Regions from separate parts of the Homo sapiens genome. Here region 2 is linked to region 1. Evidence: promoter capture Hi-C in human tissues and cell types (Jung and others, 2019). All regions are on one chromosome and are shown on one strand. Each heading gives the region's core, a stretch centred on a gene start or on the middle of the fragment in contact. The rest is flanking DNA. Distances are from core to core; before and after follow the strand shown. Region 1 holds the start of HACL1 (2-hydroxyacyl-CoA lyase 1). Region 2 overlaps GALNT15 (polypeptide N-acetylgalactosaminyltransferase 15).

What was found. The method cuts DNA at HindIII sites, captures the fragments that hold promoters and counts their contacts. A contact is called where the count stands out against the background at its distance.
Region 2: a contact is called between a fragment that was not itself captured here and the fragment with the promoter of HACL1 in region 1, in 2 of the 25 tissues and cell types used here (IMR-90 fibroblasts and lymphoblastoid cells).

What each region holds. Positions count from the first base shown.
Region 1 is chr3:15,598,913-15,603,355 of GRCh38, forward strand. HACL1 (2-hydroxyacyl-CoA lyase 1) reads right to left here and starts at 2,657. Exons shown (of 17, transcript NM_012260.4): 1 at 2,471-2,657; 2 at 2,178-2,282. The coding sequence starts at 2,551. It overlaps BTD (biotinidase), which reads left to right and starts at 2,833. Exons shown (of 4, transcript NM_001370658.1): 1 at 2,833-2,982. RefSeq lists an enhancer at 2,562-3,204 and a silencer at 3,046-3,105. The HindIII fragment of the contact is 8,334 bases long and covers 1-4,443 here.
Region 2 is chr3:16,216,364-16,220,806 of GRCh38, forward strand. GALNT15 (polypeptide N-acetylgalactosaminyltransferase 15) reads left to right here. Exons shown (of 10, transcript NM_054110.5): 7 at 3,040-3,171; 8 at 3,547-3,651. Among named protein-coding and RNA genes, the nearest start is that of GALNT15, 44 kb to the left of the region's middle. The HindIII fragment of the contact is 3,407 bases long and covers 532-3,938 here.

The sequences.
Region 1 (4,443 bases), core at 1,407-3,906:
CCTCCAAGCTGGCTCTTCCCTCTATATTCCCAGTCTCAGTCACAGACAATATGATCTACACAATCAATCAAGTAAGCCCAAAATCTAGGAATCATCTCCAGAGGAGCCTGCCTCCTCTTTCCTAACTGGTTAATGCCTGCTTATCCTTCAGGACAGCTCAGACATCATCTCCTGTGGGAAGCTGAGCCTGGGTACTCCTTCTCTGGGCTTTATAGCACCCTGGATATCTCTCTATCACAGCACTTACCACCTTATAATACAATTGTCTGTGTCTGTCTCCACAGCTTGGCTGTAAGCCCCTTAAAGCCAGGAACTATCATTCATCTCTGTATCCAGCACCCAACACAGCACATGGGACCTAAAGAACCCTCAACTAAGCTTATAGGGGCTGAAATAAAACTTAGAGACAGAGGTCGTGCTATGTTGCCCAGGCAGCCTCTAATTCCTGGACTTGAGTAATCCTCCTGCCTCAGCCCCCTTCGTAGCTGGGATTACTGGCATGTACAACCATGCCTCGCATCATCTTTCTGAAGTACAAATCTAATTACATCGCCCACCTGTTTAGAAAAACCTTTAGTCTCCCCCATTGCCTACTGTTAAAAAAAAAAAAAAATTCAAACTCTTTTTAGATTTCCCACAACCTCCCCTCAACCTACCTACCAGTCTCACAGCTCACCATGCCTTTACCTACCTTGAGGGAACCACATGAACTAACATTACCTCTACAGGCAATCTTCTCTGTCCTCAAAGAGAACCAGTCACCCCTTCTGTGCTACTACATCTATTGTGAGAGTTATAATAGATGAGTCTTTTTCTGTAAGTCTTACCCTCACCTTCCAGGACTGATCAACGTGAAGATCAAGACTAAACCTCACTCCTTCTTTACATCCCTCTCTCCTACAGGTTATGTAGCACAATCCTTAGTATACAGTACTTAGTCAATAAATGTTTGCTGTATGAAGAAATCAGTGGCAGATATGTCATCTCTACAAAAACAGTTAAGTATAGGTTCCATTCATAGGTCAATAGCTTCATTTTTTCACACAGATGAAAGAACAGAATGTTGTTCTAACAAAGACAAGTAAAATGTAGAAGCAACAGAAACTCAAAACCTCCTAGTTTTAAGATTAAAAAATACAAATCTCAAACCTTGTAGATAAAGAATGTCATTCAATAAAGAATGTCATTCAATAAAGAATGTCATTCAATTAATAAATAATGTATAATATTAAGCATCTACACCACGTGAAAGCACAAACCAAGCCAGGCACTGTGGTGATATAACAAATGAATCACAACTTCTGCCCTCCAGGCACTCATGTATGATGGCAAAAGGCACCACTTAGGGTGGCCAGGCAGTTGTTTGGGCAAGAGGAGGCAAGAATTTAAATTAGAAGGCAACGGTGGGAGTGTAAAGCAGGAATATTTAGCCTCAGCTGGACTGAGAGTATGTGATATCACAGAAGTGGATTCTTGACCTTTCAAGCCCGCACTACTGAGAGAAGAGCAAGGTGGATTGGCAGAGGATGCACTTAAAGTGGATTGACAAAACGTCGTATCTTCCTTATCCTGCTTCCAAATAAGCCTCTAAGAAAGGTGGCAGCATGATGTGGTGGAAAAAGCATCAGGCTAGGATCTGAGCCATCTGAGTTTCCATCAAGGCACTACCATTTGTGATATCCTCCACCCTGCCCCGAACCAATCATACAACAAAGCCTTGGCCTTCACTCATTTATCCCACAGGTAATCTCTGAACACCTTTCTTATGCAGGCACCACACTAAGCACTGGGGGTACAGATGTGTCGTGAAGAAATAATATCCCTGCTCTAATGGAGCTTGTAGCCTAATAGGGAAGTCAGACTTTACTCATAAACTGTCCATTCCAATCATGACATACAGTATAGTAGTAAGAGAATGGACTCAGACCCAGAATACGTGGGTTCAAACCCTGGCTCTGCTACTACCAGCTGTGTCACCAAAGGCAAGTTTTACTTAACCTGTGTCTTTTCTCATCTGTCAACTTGGTGTAACAACAGTTAATATTCAACAGTGATTGATATGATATATGTAAAGTAGCAGAAGAGTGGTAAGCGCTATCTGGGTGTTTGCAATGCATACCTACCGCTATTACTGATCATTCCCAGTAACGCATTCAGCCACCTGAGTCCATACTCACCGCTTGCTCATTCCTCATCCCGATGTACTTGATGCCTAGCTGCTGGGCAGCAATGGCGATTTCGGTCACTGGGATGCCTACGATGCCAAATATGTACTCCACATCCTGAGGAACGAAGAACAGGGGAGTAAACTCCCAAGGCCCCACCATATCGCCACATCCTTCCCTCCCTCCCGGGCGCTAAAAGGAAAACCCCCCGACCCCCATCGCCCATTTCTACTCGTCTCCAAGACAACATCGCGGTCCCCGCCAGCTTCCGTAGGAGCCTTTCATTCCAGGAAGGTCCATCGTACTTGCGTTTTCAGGGCCTGAGCGATGACTTTAGCACCAGACACCTGCTCCTCGCTGCGCTCTGCGAAGTTACTGTCCGGCATCTTCCACCGAAAAGCTCTAAGCACTCACGCAGCCGGCAAACAAGCGGAATCATCCAGCAAGGCAAACGCGAAATCGGCAGCACGCCACCTCTGGTACTGCACCTCTGACGGACAGGAGGGCAACCAACTGCCTTAAACAACGGGAAGGAAGAGGCGGTCTAAATTCGTCCACTTCCCGGGAGAGGTGAGAATGTAAACACGCGCGTTCTCCAATCAGAACTGCGCTCTCTTCTCGGCTCCTCCATTCGCGCGCCAGAATGCCAGAGGGAGGCGGGACTAGCAGGAGATTGCTGCCTATGCAAAGCAGGTAAGAAGCCGAACTCTGAGGCCTCTCGCCATTGTCTCCGAGTCGGCCAGCTGGAGCGTTTTCGGGGCTGTAAAGGGAGAATGGCGCATGCGCATATTCAGGGCGGAAGGCGCGCTAAGAGCAGGTACGGAGGGGGCGTGGTGCGGCGCGGAGGGGGTGTGGTAAGGGCGTGCGGTCCAGACCCCGCCCCGGGCGCCCAGTTGGACTTGGGGAGGGCTGCGCAAAGGCTGCCGGGAGCTGGGAAGCCCGGCGCGCGTCGTTTGCTGGGGCTGTTTGTGCGTTGCTGCTGTGCTACCGCGTTGCGTTTTCTAGGCATTTACTTACACGCTTTGTGGTTTACGCTCTCATAACCTTGTGGTTTTATAGTCCTTAAATTATTGTAGCGCACGTTACTTAAATCCAGAAGCAGATGTGTACCCCAGCAAGAGATAAAATGACGCTCAGAGTCAGTAGATCCAGACCGTGCCTGAGATCCTGAATCCTGTTTCCTACCCACTATTCAGCCATTGGGTCACAAGCGATGAAAAGAGCACCTTGAAGGTAGTATAGAGCACTGTTTTCTCCAGCCCTTGCTACTAATCCATATTACTCTCCGCTAATATCTTTCCAAAATTAGGAACTATGGCGTTTCATAATTCTTAGGTTGGGTCCCTACCTACAACCAGCCCTGCACCCGATAGCCTTTTAAAACATTTTTGTGTGAAAATCGTTTGCAATGTGCAATATCTGAAACTACTGCCTTGGAGTCATTAGACCCTCTGCTCAGTGACAATAAACATAAAATTTCCAATTGTAATAAACAGTGGAACTTTTAATTTTTTGAGGATTTGGAGTCATTTTAAGCAAAAAGAACAGTGATAAGTGGACAGTAAAGAGATGAGAGGGGAGTGGGTCATGGGTAGTGAAATGAGTGAGAAGCACTGGAAGTGAAACGATTTCTAAACCCAGACATTTTCAAACTGTAGTCCTGGGTCTTTTCAAAAGGTCTTCCCCTCTTTTTCTCAACCCCTCAACCCCACCCCAAGCAGAGGAGAGTGAAGTGGTTGCCTCCCTGCATATGTGGACGGTGTTAGTCCATTTTCATACTGCTATAAAGAAATACCCAAAACTGGGTAATTTATAAAGAAAAAGAGGTTTAATGGTCTCACAGTTCCAAATGGCTACGGAGGCCTCACAATCATGGCAGAAGGTGAAGGAGGAGCAAAGGCATGTCTTACATGGTGGCAGGCAAGAGAGCGTGTGCAGGGGAACTGCCCTTTATAAAACCATCAGATCTCATGAGACTTACTATCATTAGAACAGCATGGGAAAAATCCCCTCCCCATGATTCAGTTACTTCCCACTGGGTCCCTCTCACCACATGTGGGGATTATGGGAGCTATAATTCAAGATGAGATTTGGATGAGGACACAGCCAAACTGTTCTGCCCCTGGCCCCTCCCAAATATCATATCCTCACATTTCAAAACCAATCATGCCTTCCCAACAGTCCCCCAAAGTCTTAACTCATTTCAGCATTAACTCGAAAGTCCACAGTCCAGAGTTTCATCTGAGACAAGGCAAGTCCCTTCCGCCTATGAGCCTGT
Region 2 (4,443 bases), core at 985-3,484, 620 kb after region 1:
TGGTGTGCACCTGTAGTGCCAGCTACTCGGGAGGCTGAGGTGGAAGGATGGCTTGAGCTAGGGAGGTGGAGTTTGTAGTGAGCTGATATCGCCCCACTGCACTTTAGCCTGCGAGCCAGAGCAAGACTCTGTCTCGGGAAAAAAAAAAAAAGTTTAGGGCAGAAATGAAAGTAAGTAAAGTACATTTGGAACAGGGCCAAGTGGGGGACTTGAGCGATCAATTAAGTGCGCAGTTTGATTTTTCACTTGGGGTCTTATACATTGGCATGCTTCTGGGGGCTTGTGTCCCTTTTTCCCTGATTCTTCCCCTGGCGGGGGCTGTTCACACGTGCAGTGGCCTGTTAGCCCTTGGGAGGGGAGCATGCGCAGTGTGTTTACTGAAATTTTTCGCATGCTCACGTGAGGCGTTACCAGTTGCGCATTCCCGGAGGAAGGTCATGTACCAGTTAAACGCCACCATTTTGCCTCTTAGTGCACATGCTTGAGCCCACTTGCCCAACTCCTGAGATCATATCGGGAAGCTGATCACCAATTTCAGGTTTTTCTATCTGTTGGGAGACTGCCGTTCCCTGGTGCCAGCTGCAACTAATTATTATTTTAGAGAGACAGTTAACAGCTGCCTAACCAACACCTGATGGTGGCCTGACATCCCTGGAGGTTGGGGGGGTCGGGGAAAATCCTCTCCTGCCCTGCTTATGTCTGACTAGCTACCTAATAAAACACTCTGACCTCTTAGAAGCTATTGACCCTGTGAAAGTCATTTAACCTCTAAGAACTCAGTAACTGTTGTGAGTATACTATAAAATGAAATGTGAAAGAGTGCTATGGAGAATAAGTGCTCGGCTTACTTTCATAAAGTCTACAGGTGAGGTACCTTTTTCTTCTTATATCCATTTGGGTGTCCATTCTCTGATTCACAGATGTCCACTTTGTTCATTTGATGACTTTTGCAAGGAGAATGGCACCCTTATTGGTCAGTGAGAAGAGCTTTAGCAGAGGGCTCCTTTTATTTCTCTCTCTGTTGAGCATTTCCATTAATTCATGCTTTGGAAATGTCCTATCACTTACTTTGATTTCAAGGTTTCAGTGACATTCCTACTTCCCTGAAGGTATTTGATAGCATGAATTTACTTTAAATTTAAATAACCAAAAGTTAATTTTGCCCTAAAGATTTCTATTTCTCCATCCACCCCAAAACCCCCACAAGGATTCTGAGAGACAGAAATCCTGGGCACCCAAAAGACAAGGCCAGACTTTTGCTGCTTGGGGAGCTGAAATTTCCTTGTTTTCTCTTCTCTCAGACATAATTGTACAGAAGGGAAAGTTCATTGTCAGCCTGCCCCTCACTCAAGGTCAAACAAAGATTGGGTAGATTTATCAGTTTATCTCTTTATCAAGGAAAGTAAAGGTGATAAAACTCATATGAAGAAATGTTTCTGTTTTGGTAGCAAAGTCCAACTCTGGGAAAGGTCTACGGAGGTCTCAAATAAACACAAAGAATGCCAAGAAGCCATCAAGAAACTTATACTAATTTACTTAGAGGAAAAAGTAATAGATCCCCTTGGTTTCATGGTGGGTAAATACACTGAATAAACAAGAAATCCCTGACTTAGAGAAGTTTTTCTCAAACTTTGTGTGAAAAAGACTCACCAGGAGACATGGTTAAAATGCAGATTCCAGGGCCTCCAACCCAAACAACTGTATCATCTCTGGGGCAGGGCCCAGGAATCTACATTTTTAACTAGCTCCGTGGCATTTCTCAGGCAGATGCTCAGGGAATCACACTTTGAGAAGTGTCTAGAGAGAATTTCAGTACAACAGACTTACCACATTTCCAGCTGAGGTCTAAAAGAGAGAGGGAAAGCAGAACCAAACCAATCATACTTTACACAGCCTGGTGGACCCGTGTCTTACTGTCAGATTGGAGGCCACCAAGTGGGAACTCTGACATGGCCAGCTCGCTTCCTCTCCCCATGCCAGGAAAGGGTTCTCTCTTTTTTTGTCTGTGGTCATTCCAACCCATCCTTGTCACCTCTCTCTTCCCTAAAAGTATCCAAGATTTGGTACTAAACTTTTGGATACAGTTCTTTGTATCATCAATATGGCCAAAAACATTAATTTGTACTAGTGTTCAGGATTTGCCTTCATCTCCATCCTAGGACAATTGTATCATAAAGGAGAATCTCAAAAAAAGGAGATAGTGTAGCCCAAAAGAATGATTCATTAATGGTACCCAGAGGTGAAGAAAGATAAATTTGCCTTGCCCCAACCCCTAGCCCACGATTTCCCAACCAACTTCATCTCAATTGCCTATGGGTCAGTTCCTGACTCCATGAGGCCCCTCGTAGTTTCTCCTTACACCAAGCTAGGTGCAAAGCCCCACCATTTTGCCAGCTTCTGCAGAAAAATCATTAAAGCACAGATATCATAGACTCTCTCTCTCTCTCTTTTTTTTTTTTTTTTTTTTTTGCGAGGAAGTCTTGCTCTGTCGCCCAGGCTGGAGTACAGTAACACGATCTTGGCTCACTGTAGCCTCTGCCTCCTGGGTTCAAGTGATTCTCCTGTCTCAGCCTCCTGAGTAACTGGGATTACAGGCATGCGCCACCACACCTGGCTAATTTTTTGTATTTTTAGTAGAGATGGGGTTTCACCATGTTGGCCAGGCTGGTCTTGAACTCCTGACCTCAAGTGATCCACCAGCCTCGGCCTCCCAAAGTGCTGGAGGTGTGAGCCACCACTCCCGGCCTATTGTAGTCTTTATAGACTGGAGATTTGAGGGATTGTGGGAAGGGGCTGATATCACTTACAGTCTTGCTGGTTCCACAACTCTCTGTAGGGAAGATCTGTGCTATTCTATCCCTTCCAGACCTTCTTCTCCCAACACATGACCCTCCCCACTGCAGCCCTGGAGAACTGTGGTCTTGGCCCCTTCCTTCTGTCCTGATCCTTTAGCTTCTTCCCAGCCACTCCATCCCCAACCATGTGAATTCTGGGCAAGACAAGCTTTCATCATCCTGCTTGTGTCTTTCTCCTCCCCAGGCTGAGAAGCCAGACTGCATGGAACGCTTGCAGCTGCAAAGGAGACTGGGTTGTCGGACATTCCACTGGTTTCTGGCTAATGTCTACCCTGAGCTGTACCCATCTGAACCCAGGCCCAGTTTCTCTGGAAAGGCAAGGCATGACCCAGGGAAGATGGGGAGGGACAGGGAAGCTTCCCAAGACAAGAACTAGATGTTCAGCTCTTCCATGTCCCTGGTCAACCATTCACGGTTTAGCAGGGCCTCAGAGGCCTTGGGTCCATCCCGTGCCTCCATGCCAGTCTGAGGAAGGTGGCTGAGTTTTGCCCCATTACCCACCCCAAAGCACCTCCTTCAAGAGGCCTGTCCCTTAGGGTCAGTGGCTTCAGCTTTACCACACCTGTTGTTGTGGCCTGAACAATGTGCCTTGGGCTGCACTCCAGAGAATACAGCAAAGGAATGGTGTCTGACCGAGGGTGTCTTTACAGTGGAATCTGGAATTCACTCCTGTGTGTGTGTCCACTTTCAGCTCCACAACACTGGACTTGGGCTCTGTGCAGACTGCCAGGCAGAAGGGGACATCCTGGGCTGTCCCATGGTGTTGGCTCCTTGCAGTGACAGCCGGCAGCAACAGGTGGGTAGTCAGACTTCTCAGGATGGATGATAGCCCAAGAAGACTTGAAAGTGGGCGATATTTTTCTGGGATGCCCCATACTTCCCTTTGAGGTATCTTCTTTCTGTGGTCCCATGTCCCTTGACTGCCATGGTCCCCCACTGTAATGACTCATCACAGCTCTCCTCACCTCACCTCCATCTGTAAGCACAGACATGTGCCATTGTCAGAAAATAAAAGCATCTTAGTTAAAGGGAAATGGAGAAGCCGTTTGGCCAAACTTTTCATTTGACAGATGAGAAAACTGAGGCTTAGGGTCACTAGCCCAGGGATTGCAAACTCAGAAGCCTCCAGGATTCAGGCAGGGTTCAGTTGTCCCAGGACTGAAGAAGAAGGTAATCAAATCAGGATAAGGATCTAGAGAAAACAGGGTCATCCCAGCCTCCAGCACCATTTGGTCATTAGGAAGGTCTCCTCATATCTTAGGAGTAATTCTTCTCTTCAAAATTTTCATCATGGAGTAACTGCCCAAAGTGGTAGAAATCCTCCACCGATGCTAGCTGAGGGCTGGTAGGTCCACTTCTTTTCACAACTGGATCACAACCTAGAAAGCCTAGCTTGTCCCCAAGTCTCTCTCTTTTCAGGGTGTGATAGGGACTTTTAAGTTATCACATCCCAAAGGCCCCTAATAAAACAAACATCAAAGTATAATTTCCTGGAGATATTCACTGGATGAGAATCAAAGATCTGGGGGGCAAAAGACAGCATCTCTCTGAGGGTCTGTGGTCCAGCCCTGCATGGAAGGCTGGCTGA